Linked DNA regions of Homo sapiens: regions 1, 3, 4, 5 and 6 are each linked to region 2. Evidence: promoter capture Hi-C in 16 types of primary human blood cells and fetal thymus (Javierre and others, 2016). All regions are on one chromosome and are shown on one strand. The core of a region is centred on a gene start or on the middle of the fragment in contact, and the rest is flanking DNA. Distances in the headings are between cores, read along the strand shown. Region 1 has its middle 100 kb from the start of C14orf180. Region 2 holds the start of KIF26A (kinesin family member 26A). Region 3 has its middle 170 kb from the start of LINC02691. Region 4 has its middle 130 kb from the start of C14orf180. Region 5 overlaps PPP1R13B (protein phosphatase 1 regulatory subunit 13B). Region 6 has its middle 73 kb from the start of C14orf180.

The links. Contacts are between HindIII fragments. The CHiCAGO score rates a contact against its expected background, and 5 or more counts as called.
Region 1: a fragment that was not itself captured here is called in contact with the fragment with the promoter of KIF26A in region 2 in 1 of 17 cell types (naive CD4 T cells); the score reaches 6.0 in naive CD4 T cells.
Region 3: a contact is called between a fragment that was not itself captured here and the fragment with the promoter of KIF26A in region 2, in 5 of 17 cell types (naive CD4 T cells, non-activated CD4 T cells, endothelial precursors and 2 more). The highest score is 8.5, in naive CD4 T cells.
Region 4: a contact is called between a fragment that was not itself captured here and the fragment with the promoter of KIF26A in region 2, in 2 of 17 cell types (naive CD8 T cells and non-activated CD4 T cells). The highest score is 5.6, in naive CD8 T cells.
Region 5: a fragment that was not itself captured here is called in contact with the fragment with the promoter of KIF26A in region 2 in 1 of 17 cell types (megakaryocytes); the score reaches 5.6 in megakaryocytes.
Region 6: a contact is called between a fragment that was not itself captured here and the fragment with the promoter of KIF26A in region 2, in 8 of 17 cell types (non-activated CD4 T cells, total CD8 T cells, naive CD4 T cells and 5 more). The highest score is 10.0, in non-activated CD4 T cells.

The regions. Positions count from the first base shown.
Region 1 is chr14:104,478,155-104,481,828 of GRCh38, forward strand. No RefSeq gene overlaps it. Among named protein-coding and RNA genes, the nearest start is that of C14orf180, 100 kb to the right of the region's middle. The HindIII fragment of the contact is 2,394 bases long and covers 730-3,123 here.
Region 2 is chr14:104,137,240-104,140,959 of GRCh38, forward strand. KIF26A (kinesin family member 26A) reads left to right here and starts at 1,348. Exons shown (of 15, transcript NM_015656.2): 1 at 1,348-1,525; 2 at 1,804-2,049. The coding sequence starts at 1,484. KIF26A-DT (KIF26A divergent transcript) reads right to left here and starts at 1,390. Exons shown (of 3, transcript NR_158217.1): 1 at 291-1,390; 2 at 1-3. RefSeq lists an enhancer at 1-650 and a silencer at 347-516. The HindIII fragment of the contact is 14,398 bases long and covers 1-3,720 here.
Region 3 is chr14:104,395,855-104,399,833 of GRCh38, forward strand. No RefSeq gene overlaps it. Among named protein-coding and RNA genes, the nearest start is that of LINC02691, 170 kb to the left of the region's middle. The HindIII fragment of the contact is 1,470 bases long and covers 769-2,238 here.
Region 4 is chr14:104,449,263-104,452,961 of GRCh38, forward strand. It overlaps the pseudogene CEND1P1. Among named protein-coding and RNA genes, the nearest start is that of C14orf180, 130 kb to the right of the region's middle. The HindIII fragment of the contact is 8,232 bases long and covers 1-3,699 here.
Region 5 is chr14:103,803,666-103,807,455 of GRCh38, forward strand. The region is part of intron 1 of PPP1R13B (protein phosphatase 1 regulatory subunit 13B); the gene reads right to left. Among named protein-coding and RNA genes, the nearest start is that of PPP1R13B, 42 kb to the right of the region's middle. RefSeq lists an enhancer at 3,228-3,327. The HindIII fragment of the contact is 4,253 bases long and covers 1-3,573 here.
Region 6 is chr14:104,504,565-104,508,518 of GRCh38, forward strand. No RefSeq gene overlaps it. Among named protein-coding and RNA genes, the nearest start is that of C14orf180, 73 kb to the right of the region's middle. The HindIII fragment of the contact is 166 bases long and covers 2,016-2,181 here.

The sequences.
Region 1 (3,674 bases), core at 677-3,176, 340 kb after region 2:
CCTGGGGCCGTGCTGGTCTGTGCCTGCAAGTAATTCACACCAGGCTCATTTTGGATGCAGTCAAAGACCCCCGTATTTCACGGTGACAACGTAATCACAGAACCACATTAAAAAGTCATTATTGTTTAGAATCCAGCTTGGTTTGAAAAACTCTTACTATAAAATTCAACAGCCTTTGTAAATTACCGAAAGGTTTACTCAAGAATCCTAGGTGCCGTGATTTAGACCGGGAAGTTACCACTTTATTGATTCTGTGGGATTTTGTTGGTCCCCGCATTTATAAGGAATGATTAGTGAGTGATCAGAGTAATAAACTCCTCTGTGCTGGTTCATAAATAATGATGAATTGAGTTTGCATCCTCAAATTTCTCATGCAAACCACTCCTATTCCGAAGAGTCCCAGATGCAACTTTGGGGCAGTGTGGCCGTTAGCCCCCACGGGGACAGAACACAGGGGGATCTGGCTTCTCCGCTTGCCTCTTCATAGGATCCCAGCAGGCCTGGCCACTGCATCCCAGGATAGCAGCCGTGGAGCCGGACTCCATTTCCCCCCAGCTCGAGGGGTGCTGGGGGCCACTGGCAGAGCTCCTGCAGATGCAGATGCTCCTCTGCCTCCATCATGGCAGTCCAGGGAGCAGATGTGTGTCTGCACAAGCCCTCGTCACTCACACATGGTTGAACAGGCAGGACGTGGCCAATTCCTTGTCAGTTTTGTCCTGAGAGGCAGAAAGCTTGCCCCTGGCGGCCTTGAAATGAGGGGCTCATTTGGGGCTCCTGAAAGCTGAAACTCCAACCCAGGAAGTGCCCCAGAGCCAGGCAATCCTGACACACTCACTCTCCTTCCACACTGGGAGACAGCAGCTCTGCTCTGCCCACCGGCCCAGCTGGCTTCCAGCCAGGTTCTGCCCTCTGAGGCCCTGAAACTACACTTGTCCCTTTTTAGAAGTTGTCAATGCCCACCAGTGCCCAGGAGACTCTAGGAAGGACTGCAGTGAAATGCTCAATGTGTTTAATCCATGTTTCCCACTGGCCCAGCCATGCCTTTGACCCACAGGACAGCAGCCATGGGTGTGCTTGGGAAAACCACCATGATGGGTCCAGGCAAGAGCACCAGCCTGAGCATGGGTCACGCTAACGTGGGTGGCTCAATTAAGGAACAGGGATGGACTTCTTGTTCTGTGGCCCCCACACGCTCCTGCTTCATCCGGTGGCCATTTCTGGGTGAGGCCTGTTCCCCCACATCTCCGCAGTGGGTCCCTCTGCCCAGGCTGCTGCCAGCTCCCACCTCCCTCGGTGCCCAGCGTGAGGCTGGGGCACAGTGGAAGGTCTGTGAACCTGTATTAAGCAAAATAGAAACTAAATGTGGACTTGAACTGGACTGAAATGAAATTGAGTTAGACTGAATGAAAATGGATTGGAATGGAATGGAATTCGGATTTGAACTGAATGGAATTGAATTGGAAGTGGACTAAAATGGAATTGAACTCTAATCTAAACACCAGTCAGGCAGGAGAGATGGACGGGCTGAGCCAGGGGAGCTGCCCTCACCCCACCTGCCCCCTGCCCTGGGGAACCCTCTGGTCAATACTGCTAATAGGAACTGAAAATTAAAGAAAATGATGCTGATGGATTTCCTTTAATATGCACAGACGCAGCTCAAAGAGAGTGTTTCTGGAAAAGCAGTAACAGAGCCTGCAGAGGTCACGAGGCACCTGGACCAAACCCTGAGATGCTCCCAGGAACAGCACTTGAGTTGTGCAGTTTAAATTCGAAGCGCTGTCCACCTTCAGCAAGCACCTGAGCCACAGAAGAGGCCCCCAGAAGCCGTCTCCAGCAGACAGGAATGAGGAGGCACTGCACACGGGCAGGGTGCATGCGGGCCTGCAGTCTGAGGAACACACCTGACGTGGGGCAGCAAGGATTTTCCACCACAGGGTCACTCTGTCTGTTCAGGGTCCCAAGGGCACCGAGAACACCAAAGACTTCAAGGGCCTGACATCAAACACTGCTCTAAGGGGTGAGCAGACACCTGCCAGGAGCAGAGGGAGGGCCCCCTGGAGAGCAAGAGGACTCAGCCTTCCAGCACTGGCCGAGACGTGGAGCTGCGAGGTCACTCACCAAATAACACAACAGCCTCTAGAAGTGGGAACGGCCCTAAGCTGACAGCAGCAAGAACACAGAGACCTCAGTCCTGCAACCTTAAAGAACTCAGTCCTGGTCACAGCCCTTGTCACCAGTGGGATCTGGTCTTATTTTTACAGGAAATAAACATGGTCTATGAGAATGTTACCAGGTCCATGCCCTTCACCCAGCACCCTTCGGCCTGCTTCTCCTGCACATGAGAACATTGTTTTAATCAGCACCACACCATCAGCATGTTCGGGAGACTTACAGGACCCCATTCTGGCATCTCTCAGGGCATGGTGTTGGTCAAGAAGGTGTTTCCGGAGCAAAGCGTGCCCTGCTGACCCCCAGGCAGGTGGCATTCTCTGCTTCAGGGACTGTCTTCATTCTCCTGTGTCTTTCGGGCTGGATGGGCGGTCCAATGTCCACTCCACATTTCCCCAATTTCAAGTTCTTTCCTGCATTGAGGGGGAGAAGCCAGGAAGGACCCCCAGGCCCTGTCCCCTAGATGGCTCCAGTGAGGTTGGCAACAGGAGGAGTAAGGTGAAATTTGGAAGGTGGCGGGGGGACCCAGGGCCTTTTCACCAGCTGGTGGCTTCTCCGGCTTTTCCACCCACTCCCCCGTCACCACTACTGATGGCGACTCGAGATTTGTGGTAGTTTCCTGGGTAACCCCTGAGGACCCCTGCCATAGTGATTCAGGCTGGGCCCATCTGGGCTTTCTTTCCAGCCCCTCCTACCTCACCTCCCTGTGCTGGACCCTCTGCTCTACTGCTTGGAGCCCTCCATTTCCCAGCCCCACCCAAACCCATCCATGCTTGAATTCTTTTCTGCTCTATTTCTTGTTGTTCTTCTTTCATTTTTCTTTTTCTTTTCTTTGGAGGCAGAAACAAAAAGATCCCTCTTCTCCCTAAATGCCTGTATCTCTACTCTCCTCCGCTTTCTCTGTGGCTCAGAGGCCACTCCATGGCATAAGGTTGCCATTCTGATGTTTCCCAAAGCTTGAGGCTGCCTTTCCTGGCTGGGCTTCCCACTCCCCAGGAAGCTCACTCTCTACCCATGGCTCCCCCACATGTCTGGGTGGCCCTGACGTCCTTGCTCCAATACCCATGGAGATCACCTTTTCTAGCTCTGGCGAGAGCTCCAGGTCCACACCTTGGCTGGAGCGGACCGGAGCCTCCTCTCAACCCCCAGCCAAGTGGGCACCTTTCTCTTTCCAGACCTGCCAAGCCCCCCGCAGCCAGTGCTGCATCGGCCACTCCCACTGCCAGCAACAAGCTGGGCAGGCTCTGAGCACCGCCCCTGCTGCCCCGGGTCCTGGGTCCACCCCTACAGAGCAAGCCCACCCGTCCAGTCCCCACCGTACCACCAGGCACAGCCCTCCACAGCCCTCAGCAGCACAATCTGAAAGCTTCTGGATTTGCTCTTCCTGGCTGTTTGCCTCTCTCCCCATGGGGAGGCTATCAGGGGAACCCACCCCCAATATTTCAACGTAGGTTCTTTCTATTTTCCCTACGTTTTGGCTGGCTGAGAAATAAAAAGAAAGAGTA
Region 2 (3,720 bases), core at 98-2,597:
AGGCTGCGAAGAGACGGGTAGGGGAAGCGCTTCCGGCCCCCCAGGCTGGGTGGAAAGCGACTGCAGGCTTACGGATCTCAGAAAGAGTGGAGAGCCCCTGCCACTTTATTCCATACCCCCTTGCGTTTTCGAACCCCTAAGGTCATCAACGACCCGGAAAGCCGGGAGGGGATCACCCACCCCACTTTCTGGGGAGTGCGTGCGTGGGCGGGGAGGCTTATCCAAGTAAAAGGGGGTGGGCAAAACGGAAAGGGTCACTTTGACGTACTGAGTCTCTGCGAAGGCCTCACCGTATGTGCCGGCAGCCGCGTGTCCTGGTCTCCGCCGGGTCACGACCTTCGGAGTTTCCGAGTGCGCCTCAGGCCTGGGACGCGCGGCGCTGTCTCCCCAGTCTCGGAGCCGTGTGCGCAGCGGCCGGCAGGGGGCACTCGCGTCACGGGGAGCCCGCCCGCCGCGCCCGCCTGGCTTGACCCGGGCTTTGGGGCTGACCCGGAGCCTGGCCCGGAGCTGCCTGCGGCCGCGGATGCCGGCGACATTTGGGGCCCGGCTAGGCACAGAGCAACTGGTCGCCAGGGAAGGGCGGGGGGGCGGCCTCCCAGCCGGAGACAAACAAGCAATTAATTCCGGAGCTGAGTTCCCATCTGCCAGGCCTGCTGACAACAGGTCCGGCGCACGCCCGCAGGACCTCCCGCTTCCCGGGCGGCACGGCGCGCACACCCACTTGCGGGCACACGCGCGGCTGTAAAGACACGTGCCGTTCGCAGACGCGCCGAGGCACAGATACGCCGGCGCGGTCGCTGCCCGGCTCGAGGCGCACACCGCGGCGACACTAACCCACGCGCGACAGTTAGACCTAAAGTGGCCCGCGACACGCAGAGTACGCTGGGCTTGCTGGAAAGGCGCCTGGGAGTCTCGGGGCCGGGGTCCCGCCCCTTCCTCGGCCCACCTCGCCGTGGGCCTTGGGCAAGAGCGTCCCCTCCGCAGCCTCAGTTTTCCCGCCTGTAGAGGGAGGGGCGTCGGCGCCTCCTGGGAGACGCGCAGCCCTGGTGTCCCGGGAGAGGGGCGGGAGGCGCATGCGCGCGCGCAACTAGATCCTCGCCGCCGCCCCCAGCGCCCCTCCCCGGGGCAGGGACTCACCTAACAGGTTGGGGTCCTTGGAGTGCGCGGGGCCGCGTGGGGAAGCGGGGACCCTACCCCCCCCACGCGCCGCCCAGCACTGGGCAAGGGCGGGGCACTCTCTGGGCTCCCGCCCCTCGCCGCCCGCCCCGGGAGCCCGAGCCCCGCCCTTCCCCGGCCCCGCCCTCGCCTCCCGAGCGCGCCCACCGGAGCCACCGCGCTCCTCGCGACACTCGCAGGCTCTGCGAACTTCCGAGCGGCTGGGCCGGGCCATGGGGGCGCCTCGGGGCCGGATCACGTAGCCGCGGCGCCCCCGGAGAGCCAGCGTGGCCGGGAGCGCCTGCCGGGCTCTTCCCGCGCCCCGGCCATGGTCGGCCGCGGCGTCCCTCTGTGCGCTGCGCAGCCCGCGGTACGCGCGGCCCGGCCTGGAGAGGGAGGCGGGCGGCGGGGGCCCGGGACGGCGAAGATACTCGCGGTGTGCGCTGGATCCCTGGGGGCCGGGCCTCCTGCTGAGGGTAGCGGACCCGCAGGCGGGACCTCCGGGGATGGAGGGAGTGGGTGAGCGCCAGGGTCGTGCCCAGGGCTCCTAACTTTGGCAAGAGCGTCACGCTGGGGCAGGGCGCGCAGGGGTCTGGATCCGACGGACGTCCCAGGCTCACTGTCCGCTTCCGCCCCCACACCCTGCAGGTGGCCGAGGGCGGCCCGGCCCGCGAGCCGCCGCCGCTGCTGGAGGTGTCCCCCCGAAAGAGGCTACCCGCCGGGCCCGACCAGGACCCATGCGGCAGCCGCCCTGCTCCCGAAGGCGCCGGGGCCGGCCCAGAGCAGGGCCACTCGGCCGGCGGAGGCGGCTGGTGCCGCCACTGCCACACGAAGCTGGTGGAGCTCAAGCGACAGGCGTGGAAGCTGGTCAGCGGGCCCGGGACCACCCTCCGGGTAAGTGACACTTCCTTAGGCCGACCCCTCCGAGCAGGGCCACGCCGAACTTGGGTAGAACTTGGGGCTTGGAGGGAAGCAGGGTTCCACTCCTTCCCTGCTGCTGTTTCCACAAAGAGTTATCAGCCAGGACTTCCCTTCTGCGGGCCTCAGTTTCCCGGTCTGTAACACCATGTGTGAGCTAGGGAGCTCAGCCCGAGGGGCCCTGCTGCCTCGGATGGGAGGGGCCTGGGCTGGCGTTCCTCCCCCAGCCCAGATGTCCCACAGCTGGAACGCAGGTTTGTGTGGGAGGAGGAGGGGAGAGAGCGGATGGCAGGGACTCCACCCAGGGCGGGACAGCTCCAGCCCTACCAGCAGGGAGAGGTTATTTGGTGCATTGTGGCCCTTGGGGCACCTGGGCCCCCAGCCAGGTGTCTGGAAATTACATACCTGGGGCCGGGGGGCCTGGCAGGTGAAAGGGTGGGCCACAGCAGCTGGGGGGTCCCTGCCTACTCCTCTCCCAGCCTCAAGGATAAGAACTGTTGTCCCATACCTCCTGGGATAGACTGAGGCAGTGGCCGCCCATGGGGAATTGAGTCGGGGCCCTCTGGGTTCCCCAGGCTCCAGCCCCAGGGGCAGGTGCTTGCAGGGGAGGGGTTCTCCTGGATTTCCAGCCAGTGGGCCTGCCGGCTTTGGAGGGAGCAGGGACCATTGTTCCAGGAACAATGCATGCTGGAAGTTTGCAAAGGCTGGGGGCGGGTGGGGGTCTCCAGAGGAAGCCCGCTGCCGGGCCTTCAGCCTTTATGAAAGAGTTCCTGGGAAGTCCGCATAATCCCCATTGAATCTAAATATAGTTCTCTAAGGGCTGTGGGGGTTGGAGTGAGCTGAGACCCTGACTGCCCTGTCTGGGGCAGGGCAGGGTGGGGCAGGGTACCAGTCTGGTTTCTGTCCTGGGCACCGTCTCCGGGCTCTCTGGAGTCTCGGCGAGGGATAGGATTGCTGTAGCCTCTCTCTGGCTCAGGCCAGGCGCCTGTGGGCCTGTCCTGGGGTGGGGCTGGACCCGCCCTGTCCTCTGCTCTGGACAGGCTGCAGCCTTGGCCATACTCTGTGCCCCAGTGGCCTGTATCTAGTTTAAAAGGTAGCAGGAGACCCTTGAGGGCCCCCTGGAGAGGGCCAGCCAGAGCTAAAGGCCCATCTTGCTGCCCCATTAGGGGAAACACGCCAGAGACAGGAGGGGCATTAAGATTGAGCTGGTCTCCTCATTCTTGGAGTGGGCTTGGACTGCTGATGCTGCCTGGCCCTGGGGCCATGGTCCTGGCATGGACTCGTGGAGGGGAGGGGGCTCCTGGTCACGGGCAGGCCAGGGGTCCTAGTGGAGAGGGCTGCAGGTGATACTAGTCCCTGGTGGATTCTAGGTTCCTCATCTAGGGGGGTGTCTTGGTCTCTTCTGGCAGACAGGTCTTCAGGGGAGCCCCAGACCACCCATCTCCAGCCTCCCCTGAGCTTGGCCTTTGACACTGGAAACTCCTCTTGAGTGCCAGCTGGGGGCTCCCCCTTCCCTAGCTGGCGCTGGCACTCAGCACACCGGGGTCCCGGGCTGGTCTCAGCCAGGGCTTTGTTCTGCTCTGGGCCCCCTTCTTCTGCTTTGTGGTCTCCTCTGTCACCTGGGGCCTGTTGTGAAGTGCTGTCCCA
Region 3 (3,979 bases), core at 254-2,753, 260 kb after region 2:
CAAGGGTCTTCCGAGGCACTGAAGAACTTGGGTTTTGCTGTAGATCTGAGTGGGGAGTTTTGGGAGGAAGGGGCGGGAAGTACCTTGATCTCACTGCCAGGGCCCCTTTGGCTGCTGAGGGGACAGCAGCTGAAACAGGACGGGCAGTGCACGTCCAGCGAGGACACCCTGGCCGCAGGTCTGCCCAGCGACAGGAGGAGGGCTGCATCTGGGGTCCGTGGTGGAGGTGGACACAGCGGCCAGCTTCTGGGAGCGTTTTAGAGTGAAGTCCACAGGACGTGTGTGAGGGAGTGAGCCGGCATCCAGGGCAAGGTCCTGAGATTCAGACGGTGGTGCTGTTTGGCAGTGACCCTGGGTGTGGGCGTCCCGGGTGCCGGGGAGAGCTCATCTTCAGAAATGAGGAGGCCGGGGGTGGCACAGACTGTCCACACAGGGGTTCTGTGGCCTGGCGTGCTGCCAGTCCAGAGATCCCAAAAAAACCTGTGTCCCGGCTGCTGTCCTTGGCCCTGCTCTGACCCCTGCTCTCCCCGCTGCTTTTCAGAATTGCTGCTCCGTGAATTTCTGAATTGCAGTACTCGCTGTGCACCTGTCTCTTCCTTCGGGAGCCATTGTCAGGTGGGATTGCGTAAATGTCCTCCATGGCGTGAGGCCCTGACTCACCTGAACAACATTCCCCAGTGAGCACGGAGCAGCAGCCCGCCCGGCTCAGCAGTGCCTTGCCCTGGCCCTTTCTCTCCTCGCTGGTTCATCTGCATTAAAGAAACAGAAAGCTTCCTTCGCTGGCCCGCTCATTGCCTGTCTTCTCTCCCTGCCTCAGCTGCGGTCAGGCTCCAGGTGAGCTGCACCTGGCCGTCTCAATTACACTGCTTCTCTGGCATCGGATAGGAACTCTATGGCCAACTTACCCACAAGGTGGTCTGCAATATCTTTGAATAAATTAATGATTGAATGAATGTCTTAGTCCATCCAGGCCACTACAACAAAACAACACAGATGGGGCAGCTTAACAGTGGACATTCATTCCTCACATTTCTGGAGGCTGGGAGTCCAAGGTGAAGGTGGCAGCAGGGTTGGCTCCAGAGAGGGCTGCTTCCTGGTCCCCGGACAGCCTCCTTCTTGCTGTGTCCTCTCATAGCAGAGAGAGGATGTTCTGTCACGGGCCCTCATGACCTCCTCTAAGCCTCATCAGCTCCCAGGGGCCTCACTTGCAAATACCATCGCATTGGGGTCAGAGCTTCCACATAGGAAACATTTGGTCTGTAGCAACGAGTGAATGAATCATTACAGATTTCTCTATAAGACCACCAGGTCTTAATGTATTCAAAGATATTGCAGACCACCTCTTGGGTAAGTTGGCCATAGAGTTCTTATCCAATGCCAGAGAGGCCGCGTAAATGAGACGGCCAGGTGCAGCTCACCTGGAGTCTGACCGCAGCTGAGGCCGGGAGAGAAGACCGACGACGTCTGAGTCGTCAATGTTGTGAAAGATCTCCAGAGTGATGAAATTAAGGGTATTTATTTCTTTAGTTGTTGCTTTTGTTGTAGCAAACAAAATGAAACAAACACACATGCACACAAAACGACCAAGCAAAAAGTGTCCGCTACTTGTTAAAGTGAACCTCTAGTAAAGTTGTCTCTCTTTTTGTCACCGAGGATGAGAAACAGAGATGGGAATTCTATCCTCATGGAAAACAGGAGGCACCCACAACTCTGAGCCCCTGAGAGTGTGAAGGCCTTGCCGAGTGACCTCGCTGCTCCAGGGCGAGGCGGAGGCCAGGCTGCGGGGCTGCACAGCCAGCCAGGGAAGCTCCCCGCCCCAGGACTGCCCTCCCACACACTGCAGACAGTTGTTTCGGGAAGAACTCACTTTATATGCACAAATAAACAATGACAGAAAGGAATGAAAATAGTGTCCACTGAAAACATTACAAGAAAAAGGAAGAAAATAATAGAAAAGGTAAAAAGCAAAGACACAAAAAATCCTCGCATTGGGGAAGATGATGGAAACCTTCTTAACAATCAGAAACTTAACGATCTAAATGAAAATGTCTTTCACGTAAAACAAAAGCCAAGACAGACTTCAATAAGAAACAAAAAGATGATAGGAGATTTCAAAAATAGGCAGGCAGAGCTCAAGAAAAGAAGCAGAATTTTAAAAATCACAAAATGAAGGCCACACTAGAATCAAAGAAAAAGAGAATAGATTCTCCTAAAACCATTGCCAGGGATGTGGAGTCAAGCTTGGAAAAAGTGAAAAAAATTCACCAGAAAAGAATAAAGAGTTGCGATGGTTTAGAGGAAAGGATAGAAAAGGAAAACACAAAATGCCGACACAACACACACATAATTGGTGGCCTTGCAGGAGAAAATCAAATATAAAAGAAAAATAATTCAAATAATTCAAGAAAATGTGGTGAAACTAAAAAAGATGAAATCTATGGATTAAGAGGGTATATCATGTTTCTACAAAAATTGGTGCACTTGATCAGCACTGAGACTTGGGGGTCAAACACGAAGAATTTGTTTGGCACCGAGGCAAAAATATGAAGGCCCTGACATGAGAAGAGAAGTCCAAGCTGGCTTCAGATTTTCTACGGCAACACCTCATCTTAGAGAAGAGGGAAATAATGCCTGCAAAATCTCCAGGAAAAGAAAGTATGAACCAAGAATTTTATATCAGAGTAAAATTTTAGAACAGAATAAAGCTGTTACTCATGCTGAATCATAAAAAAGCGCTTCTGAAAATATTCACAAATGGAGGAACTCTTGTCTACTGAAGTTCCTTTTAAATAAATAAATAGAGAATGAATTTTAGTCCACCAAAAGGCAAATGAACAGGCTGTGAAGGACTAGGTCAAAACAACTGAGAGACTTAGGCCGTGGAGCGTTAAGTAGTGTGGAGTGTGTCAGTGGAGACAGGCGGCAGAGCTTTGGTGGCCTGTGACAAATAAATCCGGACAGCTCCTCCTCTCCCTGTGGGTGCAGCCACTCACCCAGGAAGTCCACTTCCCTCCACCTGACTCTAGGCTGGCCTCATGGCTTCTTTGGCCAATCCAATGAGGCAGAAGGGGTGTCTTGTGAGTTCTGGAACCTGGGTCTTAGGGCGTGGTAGCTTCAATTTTCACTGTCATGGCAAATCCTGATGCCGGGGCGCCTTCTGATATGGTTTGAATAAAATCTCACCTGAAATGTGATCCCCAATGTTGGAGGTGGGGCCTGGTGGGAGATGTTTGGGTTATGGGGGTGGATCCCTCATGAATGGCTTGGGGCTGTCCCCATGGTAGTGAGTGAGTTCTCACTCTTAATTCACACAAGAGCTGGTGTTAAAAAGAGCATGGCACCTCCTCCTATCTCTCTTGCTTCCTCTCCCATCATGTGACATTCTTGTTCCCCTTCCACCTTCCATCATGAGTGGAAGCAACCTGAGGCCCTCACCGGAAGCCGAGCAGATGCCAGTGACATAATTCTGTACAGCTTGCAGAACTGTGAGCCAAATAAACCTGTTGTCTTTATAAATTATCCAAGCTCAGATATTCCCTTATAGCAACACAAAACAGAGTAAGACATCTTCCCTGCGCTGCTCCCGCCACCCCTTCTCCCCGGAGAGCAGCTTCTCGGAAAATCACCTGCACCTGAATCTTTGGCTCAGCATCTGCTCTGAAAAACTTGATCTAACACGGCATCTAAGATCCAAAGGAAGTTAGCTCAGCCTGACGCCAGCTTTCTCTCTAAAAGCACCCAATCCAAGCACATGGCCTGTGGCAGGATGTGGAAGCAATGCCCCTGGGTCTCAGGACACTCAGGGTAGGCAGGTGGAGAGCTCTTAGTATGGCAGGAGTGATGGGGGTGGGGGTGGGGATGCTGGAGGTGGTGCTGAGAACACAGGTGGCACAAAGACCCAGTCCACTCCTCCTGTGACCTTTGCCCTCCAGCTCCTGCCAATCAACTTCTCAGTCAGTGTCTAGGCCCAGCCCTCTAT
Region 4 (3,699 bases), core at 1,066-3,565, 310 kb after region 2:
AACTTAAAAACCACAGCAAGATGAAGACTTTTTGAGACATAAGAGAGGTAAGAGAATTCATTGCTGTCAGACCTGACTTATAAGAAATGTTAAATAAAGTCCTTTATGCAGAAGAAAAATAATAGCAAATGGAAATCTAGATTTGTTCAAATGAATGAAGAGCACTAGGAGCGGTAAACTTGTGGGTTTAATCATGAATGCACATAAAATATAGTCAAGTTCTTTAACACATAAATAATTGACTAAAGGAAATGTGATAACAACATTGTGGGGCTTATCACATGTATAGAAAGAAAATGTATAATTCAAGAACACAGACCCTGGGACAAGGGAACTAGATTATTACTGTTATAGGAATTTTATGCTACACATGAAGTGGTGTAATATTACTTATAGGTAGAACATAAGCTAAAGATGTATCCTATAAAACCTAAAGCACCCACACACAAAAATGATGTATAGCCAATGAGCCCACAAAGAAGATAAAACTAAATCATAATAAATACTCAGTTAATCCAAAAGAAGTTGGAAAAAGAGGAAAGAAAAAAAAGCAGATGAGGGAAAAAAAGCAAGTAGAAAACAACAAAGTGGAAGATTTAAACCCATCACATCGATAATCACATTAAAACTAAATACTATACTTGAAAGGCAAAGATTGTCTTATTGGGACAAAAAGGCAAAAGCAACTATATGCTAACTACCAGAAACCCACTTTAACTGTAAAACTATAAACAGATTAAGTGTAAAAGGCTAGGAAAAAATGCACCATGCTAATACTGATCAAAAGAAAGCTGGAATGACTATATTAATCACAATATAAGTAAATTTCCTGGCAAATAATATCAGTGATAGGTAATTTCATAACAGAGGGTCAATGTATCAAGAGGGCATAATAATCCTAAATTGTATCCACATAATAACATATATTCAAAATACATGGAGCAAAAACTGATCACCCTGCAAGTAGAAATAAATAAATTGAGAATTAGAGGTGTCAACTCCCTATTCTCAGTAATTATTAGAAAAATGTAGATAGAAAATGGGCAAAAAAAAAGGAGGCTTGAACAACACCATCAATCACCTTGACCTAACAGACATTTATAGAGTCCTCCACCCAATAACAGCAGAATACACAATCTTTTCAAGGACACACAGAACATTTACCAAGATTGACCATATTCTAGGCCATAAAACAAGTCTCAACAAATGGACTAGATTCATATCAAATTCTCAGCCAAAATGGAATTAAATTAGAAATCAACAACAGAAAGATATCTAGAAATTCAAAATATTTGGCAACTGAACAGCACACACCTCTAAATAACCCATGACTTGATGTGTTAGTCCTTTCTCACGCTGCTATGAAGAAATACCCGTGACTGGGTAATTTATAAAGAGAAGAGGTTTAATTGACTCACAGTTTTGTACGGTTGGGGAGGCCTCAGGAAACTTACAGTCACGGTGGAAGACACCTCTTCACAGGGCGGCAGGAGAGAGAATGAGTGTCAGCAGGAGAAATGCCAGATCCTTGTAAAACCATCAGATTGCGGAAACTTCCGAGCTCTACTCTGCGTCTGCAGCCGCCGCCGTCCTGCAGAGGAGCACGCAACCCAGGCGAGGCCGGAGGACGTGTCCATAGAATGCCCAGGGGTGACGAGCTGTCCTGAGCCCCTCTGCTGCAGCCACCTGCCTGTCCCATACACCCTGCCCACCACGGAGTCCAGAGGGAAATCGGCCAGCAGCCCCAAGCCCGACACCAAGGTGACCCAGGCCACCACCGAGGCCAAGGTACCCCCGGCAGCCGATGGGAAATCCCCCTTGACCGAGCCCTGGAAGAAGGAAGCCCCGGCAGAGAAGCAGCAGCCACTGGCAGCCCCCACCATGGCGCCTGCCAAGAAGACCCCGGCCAAGGCAAACCCCGTCCTTCTCAACAACCACGGCAACCTGAAGCCAGCCCCCACAGCCCCCATGGTGCCCAGCAGTCCTGATGCAACCCCGGAGCCCAAGGGTCCTGGGGACGGGGCAGAGGAGGACGAGGCTGCCAGCGGGGGCCTAGGGGTCGAGGTCCCTGTTCCTGCGAGAACTTGAACCCCCTGCTGGTGGCTGGAGATGTGGCTGTGGCAGCCATAGCCCTGATTCTCGGTGGGGCCTTCCTGGCCCAGAAAAAATAATACCTTCGGGCCAGGCGGGGGTCACAGAGCCACTTCCTGTGCAGATCTCAGGAAGCCAGCGCATGCAGAATTCACCCTTATCTACGTGTACACACGCACATTCATTACACATCTACATATGCCCCCAACACACGCACACAGTGGAGAAGATGCTCGAGCCCACCCTTGCTGATCCAGGACTTCCCCAACCTCCAGGGCAGAAGGAACCTAGGCTCCGGGGCCCACAGCGCCGGACTGGGGGAGAGGGTCTAGCTGGGGGACTGCAAGAAAGGAATGGACCCTGTGTGTGGCCCTCCAACGGCTGGGTGATCCTGGGCCCCCAGGGCTGGTCTCTGAGTGTAGGTGGGGGTGCTGGGATGGGTTCTGCCTGGGCCCAGCCCTCTTGGGGAGATTAAAGGGCGGACATTAATTGTTGAAAAAATAAAACACACCAAAAAAACGTCAGATTGCATGAGACTCACTTATTATCAAAAGAACACCATGGGGGGAACCACCCCCATAATTAAATTACCTCCACCTGGTCCCACCCTTGACACCTGGAGACTATGGAAACTGCAATTCAAGGCGAGATTTGGGTGGGGACACAGAGCCAAACCATATCTCTCAAATAAGAAATCAAAAGAGAAATTGGAAAGTTATTTGAGCTGAAAATGAAAACACAACATACCAAAATCAGGGAGATGCAGCTAATGTATGCTTGGAGGCAAATTTAAGCACTAAGAACCTATGTTATAACAAAAAAGAAAGGTCTCAAATCAGTGACTTACATTTTCACTTAAGAAACTGAAAAGAGAAGAGCAGATTAGACACAATGTAAGCTGAAAAAGAAAATAATAAAAAGAACGGAAATCAATGAAAGAGAAAAGTAAAAATTATAAGAAAAATCCAAGAAAGTAAAAGCTAATCATTTTAAACAATCAATTAAATTGTTAAACTTCTAGTCAGTTGATAAAGAAAAAGGTAAAAAGGCACAAATTACCAATATCAGGAATGAAAGGGTGGGTGTCACCAAATATTCTGCAGTCATTATAAGGAAACAATGGACTATTGTGAGCCACTTTTTTCTAATAAATTTGATAACTTAGATGAAATAAGCTAATTCCTTAGAAGCCATAAATTATCAAAGTTCACTCAAGAAGAAATAGATAACATGAATATCTATTAACTAAATCAAGTTTTTAATTAAAATCCCAATGACAAAGCAAACTATAGGCCCAGGTGGTTTTCATGGTGAAGTCTAACAATATTTGAGGAAAAAATAACAATTCTACACAAATCCTTCCAGACAATAGAAAATGAAGAGGTACTTTTTTTATTCGATGAAGAGAATGTTACTTTCCTACTAAATCAAACAGATATAAGAAACGACAACAGAGACCAATATCCCTCATGAACAATGATGAAAATATTCTTACCAAAATTTTAGCAAATCTAGTTTATCTAAATCATGACAAAGTGTAGTTTACCTCAGGAAGACAAAGTTGATTTAACATTCAAAAATCAATAAATGAACTTTATCTTATTAGCG
Region 5 (3,790 bases), core at 197-2,696, 330 kb before region 2:
ATTAATTAATAAACAAATAAATAAAAGATTTGGTTAGCTACAGTTAGGAAAACAAAAATTTCTAATTGTGTGCTGTAACAAATATAGCATGTAATGACAAGATGCCCTACTTATGCCTTTCCTCAAACTGCTTCTCTGCCCTGATGAATCACACAACAAATCCTGCCCCTTTCTGCTCACTGACAGTACTCTCTACCCATCCTGACCTGACCTGAGAAAGACTGGAACCAATGTCTGCCCATCTTGACCCAACCTCAGATAAAGCCTCCTCTTCTCCCCTGCTGTAACAGACTGTGGCTATTTATAGTACAACTTTCTTACATTAAATTATCAATAGTTTTCTTGACTACATCCTCTACTGGAACAGTATCTGTGACTCATTACCTGGTCTTGAAATCATCTAAGTGTGTCTTAACTTGCTCCATTTTTTTTTTCATTCAAAAAAGTTGGAAAATATCATACTAGACCATAAGGACAATACTTGTGTTCTCCAGCTCAGTGCCTGGACACACAGTGGTGCTCAAGAAATGCAGGATGAGGCAGGCAGAAAACTGACAACCATTATTAAGTAGCTTAAGACGTCATCTTACCCTTGCTTTCAGGAACATCTGAACTAAGAAAATCAACTGAAATCAAATAATCACTAATTTAAGTAAACCACACAGATATTTTAACATTTTTACAAACTTGGTATTTAAACTATTTTCTTGGCAATCCAAGGAAACCAAAGCAAAACACAAATTGAGGATGTATAAGCTATTAAAAAACAGGAATTAGCTGGGCATGGTGACTCAAGCCTGTAATCTCAACACTGAGGGAGGCAGAGGCAGGAGGATCGCTTAGGCCCAGGAATTTGAGACCAACGTGGGCAACATGGTGAGACCCCATCTCTACTAAAAACTAAATAAATGAATAAACAACTAGCTGGGCATCATGGTATGTGTCTGTAGTCCCACCTACTCGGGACACTGAGGTAGAGGATCACATAAGCCCAGGAGTTCAGTGCTGCAGTGAGCTATGATCACACCACTATACTACAGCCTGGGTGATAGAGTGAGATCCCATCTCTAAGGAAAAAAAAAAATCTAAACAGGAATTATCCTATAATCAAAGAGACAGACAATCACAAGCATTGACAAGGATGTGGAGAAACTGAAACCTTCATATATTGGTGATGAAGATGTAAAATGGTACAGCTATTTTGCATAACAGTCCAGCTGGAGTGCAGTGGCTCAATCTCAGCTCACTGCAACCTCCGCCTCCCAGGTTCAAGTGATTCTCCTGCTTCAGCCTCCCAAGTAGCTGGGATTATAGGCGCACGCTATCACGCCTGGCTAATTTTTTTATTTTCAGTAGAGATGGGGTTTCACCATATTGGCCAGGCTGGTCTCGAACTCCTGAGCTCACGTGATCTGCCCACCTCGGCCTCTCAAAGTGCTGGGATTACAGGCGTGAGCCACTATGCCCGGCCTAAAAAATTTTAAACACAGATTTGCCATATGGCCCCCAGCAATTCCACTCCTAGGTACCTACCCTGGGGAAATAAAAATATATGTCCACGCAAAGTCTTGTATGCAAATGTTCATAGCTGCACTGTTCATAGTAGCCAAAAAGAAGAAACAAGGCCAGGAACGGTGGCTCATGCCTGTAATCCTAGAACTTTGGGAGGCCAACGGTGGCAGATTACTTGAGCTCAAGAGTTCAAGACCAGCCTGGGAAACATAACAAAACCCCGCCTCTACAAAAAATTCAAAAAGTAGCTGGGCATGGTGGCACACGTCTATAGTCCCAGCTACTCAGGAAGCCTAGGTGTGAGGATTGCTTGAGCTCAGGAGGTCAAAGCTGCAGTGAACTGTGATCATGCCACTGCACTCCAGCTTGAGTGACAGAGCGAGATGCTGTCTCAAAAAAAAGGAAGGAAAGAAGGAAGGAAGGAAGGAAGGAGAGAGAAAAGGAAAGACAAGACAAAACCAAAATCTCCATTAACAGATAATTATGGAATATCATACAATGGAATATTATTCAGCAATAAAAGTAACAAAGTATTGACACATGCTACAACATGGATGAACTTTGAAAATACTAAGCTAAGTGAAAGAGGCCAGACACAAAAGACCACATGTTATATGATTCCATTTATATGAAATGCCCAAAACAGTCAAATCCATAGAGAAAGAAAGATGTGTGGTTGCCTAGGACTGGGGATGGGAATGAGGAGTGATGGCAAATAGGCACAAACTTTGTTTTGGTATGACAGTAATGTTCTAAAATTAGATTGTGGTGATGGCTGTACAACTATGTAAATTTACTAAAGATCACTGAATGTTCACTTAAAATAGGTAAACTTTACGGCACATAAATTATAACACAATGAAGCTGTTTTTAAAAAGTAGGATATATAAAACTTCTAGAAAAGGAATTCAGAAACTTGACTTACATGGTACAAAGAACCCTGGAATAGGAAGCCCAAGTTCTATCCTTAGCTATGGCATTGACTGCTGCAACTGGCTGGGGAAGCTGCTCCTTAGTCTATCTCTGGGTCTTGGTTTCTTGGCAAGAACTCAGCAGATAATATGAAACACATATTTGCAGGAAAATGGCTCTCAGGCTTTTCTGGCCCAACCCAATCAGGTAAAGTATTAGATCCCCCAGCTCACCTATACCATCTACTACTTCTTTCTGGTGGAAAAGGAGCTCAGGGATAACAAAAAATAACTGAAGAGAAATAAGGTGATAAAAGCTATACTAAATTTTAGTAACTTGCAATAACTCACTTGGTAGGTTATGAGTAAATAGCTCATAAAAGCCACAGAAAGGATCAGTTGGGGTGAGGGTGGGTGAACACCAGGAAGACCCCTTTAGCTTTCCAGCAGGCCACGCACCCCAAAATGAGAATTGATGCTAAGGTCCCTTCTGGCCCTGATTGCAACTCAGTTCACCAATTTAAAATCTCAGAAACATTAGAGCTGTAAGGAAAACTAAGTCTAAGCCATCACCCTAAATGCTTCATCTCACTTTCCTCAATTAGCCTCTCAAAGACTGAAAAACACACCTGGGAGTTGCTGTCATCCACACAGAAAAAGGAGAATAAAATAAAGGATTGGCTCAACTCCCTTCTCTCTCATACTCCACAAACAATCCATTAGCAAGACTGTCAACCTCGTACCCAGAAACTGATAACTCGTCTCCCTGGCTACTACCCAAGCCCGAGCCACCACCACCTCTCAGAAAGGATGTCTGCAAGAGCAAACTCATTCATCTGTTTCCACTCTCACCCTTCAGATACATCACTTCATTCAAAACCTTCCCGTGGTTTCCTCTCTGAGAATAAATTTCAAAGTCCTAACTATTGTCTAAGAGGCCCTGCAAGACCTGCAACACACACATGCATACCTCTCTGATCTCAGTGCTTACCACACTCTTCATCCCTTCTGCCTCCCTCAACAGGGCAAGCCAACTCCTGCCTCAGGGGCTTTGCACTTGCTATTCTCTGCATAGACCGCTTCACTCAGCTACTGACATTGTATTACCCTCTTCTTTCAGGCCTCTGCTGGAATGGTGTCTTAGCAAGGAAGCTTTCCTTAACCGAGAGTCTACCTAAAATAGCACTACTCCATCCCTCTGTCCTCCTACCCTGGTTTATGTATTTCTGCTTAGCACTCAACCACCACCTGATCTATGTATATATTTGTTTATCCTCTGTCTGTTGTCACTAGAACACATAAGCTTCTTGAGAGCAGAGTTTCAGTTAATTACCTGCTGTGTCAGTAGTGCCTGAAGCAGTGCCTGG
Region 6 (3,954 bases), core at 849-3,348, 370 kb after region 2:
TCCCTTTGCTTGGGACTGAGGGGTTTCCCAGGGCATGGGACTTTGAATGCCAATGCCGGGAAGGCCCCAGGCAGACTGGATGAGTTGGTCACGCCACCCTAGTGTAATAGCTGATAGGCTGACATCTCAAAGATTCACATCCTGGTGGCTGGGGCCTGTGAATGTGTGACTTCACATGGCCCCTGCCGGTGTGATTAAGTCAAGGACTGGAGCTAGGGAGTGGCTCTTGGATGGGGTGGACCCTGCATGCAATCACGGGAATCCTTTTAAGAGGAAGCAGGGGCAGATTTGGCAACGCAGAGGAGGAGACCGCGCAGACAGAGGCAGAGATGGAGGGGTGCAGCCACACCAGGGCCACCTGGAGCCCCCGAAGCCTGGAGAGACAGGGACGAGATTCTCCCTTTGAGCCTCCAGAGGGAACCAGCCTTGCTGACATCTAGATTTTAAAGCCATGAGACTTGTTCTGAATTCCTGGCCTCTGGAAATGTGAGATAATAAAGTAACGTTTTCTAATAAGGCCAGACCTCCAAAGCAAGGCTCCTCAGCAAACCACACGCCACCCACACCACACAGCCCCTCAGTCTGCGGATTCACAACACAACCCAGGAGATAGGACCCGGGAGACGCCGGCCCCCGCCTGCAGCCAGGCTGAGCTTGACGGCCACAATAGGGGCAGCCATAGCAGAGGGCTGCCTCAGAAGTTCTGCTTCACCACCGGGGAAAGTGCCAGGAGGCCTGGCACGTCCCGGGATAGTGAAGACGGGTAGCCACTGGGCCACCTGGAAGGTGACTGCGGCACCTGCACCCCCCGCATGGTTGCTCCCCACCCCCAGAGCTGCTGCAGGCACACCTGGCGCCTGCTCCAGCCAGCCTTGGCATCTTCCTCTCTGTTCCTCCCTCCGGGCAGGGCAACTGGGCAGGCTGGACACCCAGCAGGGGAGCTGTCCACATCAAGAGCTCCCCTTCTACTACCATTTCTGGGCCACGTCCTCCGCCCTCAAAACAGCAAACCCGTCTCCAGTGCCAGACTCGGGGCTGCACATGACCAGGGCAGGAGTAACTGAACTCGCAGAGGACAAAAAGAAGAAAGAGGAAGGGAATCCCTTCAGCGCCACAGCTGAGCTGTGTTTGCTGTAGTTTCTCCAATTTCTTTGTGAAAATGTAATCGCGGTCCCGGAGCACGTGGGACCCTCTGCACACTGACAGTGGGAGGGAGACTCACTGCAGGGGCTGCCGAGAGCCCCCGCCTGGGGTCCTTGACCTGCTGGGCTGGGGGGCTGGGGAGAGTCTGTGGGTGCAGAGAGCTGAGTCTCTGGGGCTGGGGCCCCTCCTCCTCCATGTCTTTCAGACAAGGTGTCAGGGCCCCACCTGGGACCACACTGACCTATCATAGCCAAGGTGACCTTGGCTGGCTGGCCCCTGAGTGAGGCTGGGGAAGGAGGCAGGAAGCAACAGGCCTGGATTTGGGATGACTGCCCCGCTGGGACCTCCTAGAAGGTGTCACCCTGAGGGGCCAAGAGGGAGGTGAGCCTCAGAGCTGAGGTCCACCTGCAGCCTTTGCCTGACCTTTGGTTCTGGGGGCAGCTTGGGGACCCCCACCTGCCACTGTCAGCCTTTCCACCTGCAGGGTCAGGCAACTTAAAACCTGAGGACATCACAAAGCAGGAAATGAGTTCCTAAATAGAAACCCACTGGGGTCTCCCACCTACTACCACCCCTCCTCCTCTCCTGCCTCCCTGCTCCTCCTGGCATGTTGGCTCCCCCAGCAACGCCGCCCTCCTCTCAGACACACACTCCCTACCTGCCTGCACCCTTACCCCACCCAGCCTCCTCTGGCCTCCCTGGCCCCCAAGTTCAGCCTCCTCGTTCCCTGTCCCTGCTCTGTCCCACCCAAGGAGCAGTGTGCAGCCCCTCCCCTGCACCCCTCCCTGGCGACCTCACCCCACATCTTGGCGCCAGGCACCTCCAGACACTCTCCCCACTTGTCTGCCATTAAGGAGACCTCTTGTCCTAGAAGCTTCCAGCAAGGCAACCACCACATTGCAGACCCCCTTCCTCCTGCCCCCTGCCCCAGGCCCAGGTTTGGAGCAGCTGCCCATCGCAGAGCAGCCACCGTGGGGTGTCAGCTGGCCGGGGTCACCTTCTCAGTGTTTGGCCATTTCCTCACTGGCAGGACCCTGAAGCTTCATCCAAAGCAAGAGGAGAAGACAGGTAAGGACTGCAAGCCACACTGGGCGCTTGGATCTGGAAGAGAAGGGCAGAGACTTGGCTGGCTGAGGGTGAACCTCTCCTCCACCGTGGGCAGCCCAGGCCCTGCCTGGAGAACAAGCAGAGGGGGAGATTCTCCCTCAGGAGAGAGCGGAGGGGGAGATTGCCCCCAGGTTGCCATGGGGCTGGGATAGAAGATTCTGTGACCAGGAAATGGCCCAGCCTGCTGCTCCACCTGGCTGCAGCCACCCCTTTCTCCAAGACCAGACTTATGGGTCTGTCTCCCTGCTGCCTCCCTCTGCCGTTCTGCAGCTCTGGGGAGCTCTGTAACTGGGGGGCCCAATTCTGCCATTCTGCAGCTCTGCAACTGGGGGGCCTGGGTCGGTGGGGAGGTGGAAGTTGCCCCTGCAGAGAGTGTGTTCTCTTTTCGGGGAGACCTGGGCCTCCTGGTGCTGGAGGGGCTCCCAGCTGTGAGTAGGCAGGCCCCATGTAGCAAGGAGACAGCTCGCCATGTGGACTCCCTTGGGTTTGGTGATTGGTCACTGCCCACTGGCGTGCACTCAGTGCGTTCCTGGGCCCACCCAGGCTTCTTGATCTCTTGTGATGTTTGTAATCTGGCATTTGGGAGAGAGTGAGGTAAAGGCAATTTTGCAACTGCAATAAAACCAGCAAAGTGATCCTCTGATGGTTCTTAATGAGATCCGTCTATCTCCCCTGACTGAGCCGGCAGACTGCAACCCCATGTGTGAGGTCAAAATGAATGTCACATGGTCCCCCACAGAACCAGAGAAGCCATCACCATGGTGCCTGGCCTAATCTGCTCCAGCATCCGACAGGAGTGATCAGAAGATACTCACAGGAAATTGTTTTTCCTGCCTCGTAACCATAACAACAGATGAGAGCTGGTCTTGCTCAACTTTCCGAGTGAGCATCTTTGTCAACATGTAGCCAAACCCAGGACACAAAAGCAGAGACCAGGGCTGGCAAAAGGGCACTTTGGAGATATCAGGGTTTGGGGCTCCTGTGAGGTCTGGATTCTCCCCTCTCCTGCCCCACCCGACAGGGATGGCTTAGAACGTTCCTGAGTGTGGACTAGAAGGTGGGTGGAAGGACAATGGGCCCCCTGGAAGTGTGCATACCTGGCATCACAGTGAGCTGTGGCTGCTGCCTGGGCAGAAGCTGAGAGGCTGCCTTGCTGCCCAGAGTCCCCACAGGCCTGCAGGTGGGCACCAGTCCTTGCTTCCCAGATTACAGTCAAATGCTCTGCCCATATCATTCCCTAACTCTGACAGCACCAGGTCCAGATCTATCCCCTAAACTGCAACAGTATTGCTGAGAGAAATTAAAGAAGAGCTGAATGAATGGAGAAGTATACCAAGTTCATGGATGGGCAGACTCTCTATGGCTAGGATGTTGTTCAGCCACCCCAAAATGATCAGTAGACCGAATGTGATCTTCATAATAATTCCAATGAGCTTTTTGACGGAAATTGATTGATTGATTCTAAAATGCATTTGCAAGTGCAAAGACCTGGAAAAGAAACATGATCCTGGATAAAGAGCACCGTTGGACTAATACGATCTGATTTCAGGATGCTGCAAAGCCCAGTAATCAGGGCAGTGAGATACTGGCGAAGAAATAGACACTTAGATAATGGAAGAAAATGTAGAGACAAGAACTAGACCCATAAATACATTTCCCATCGATTTTTAGCAAAGGCTGCAAGGAAATTCAATAAAGAAAGAA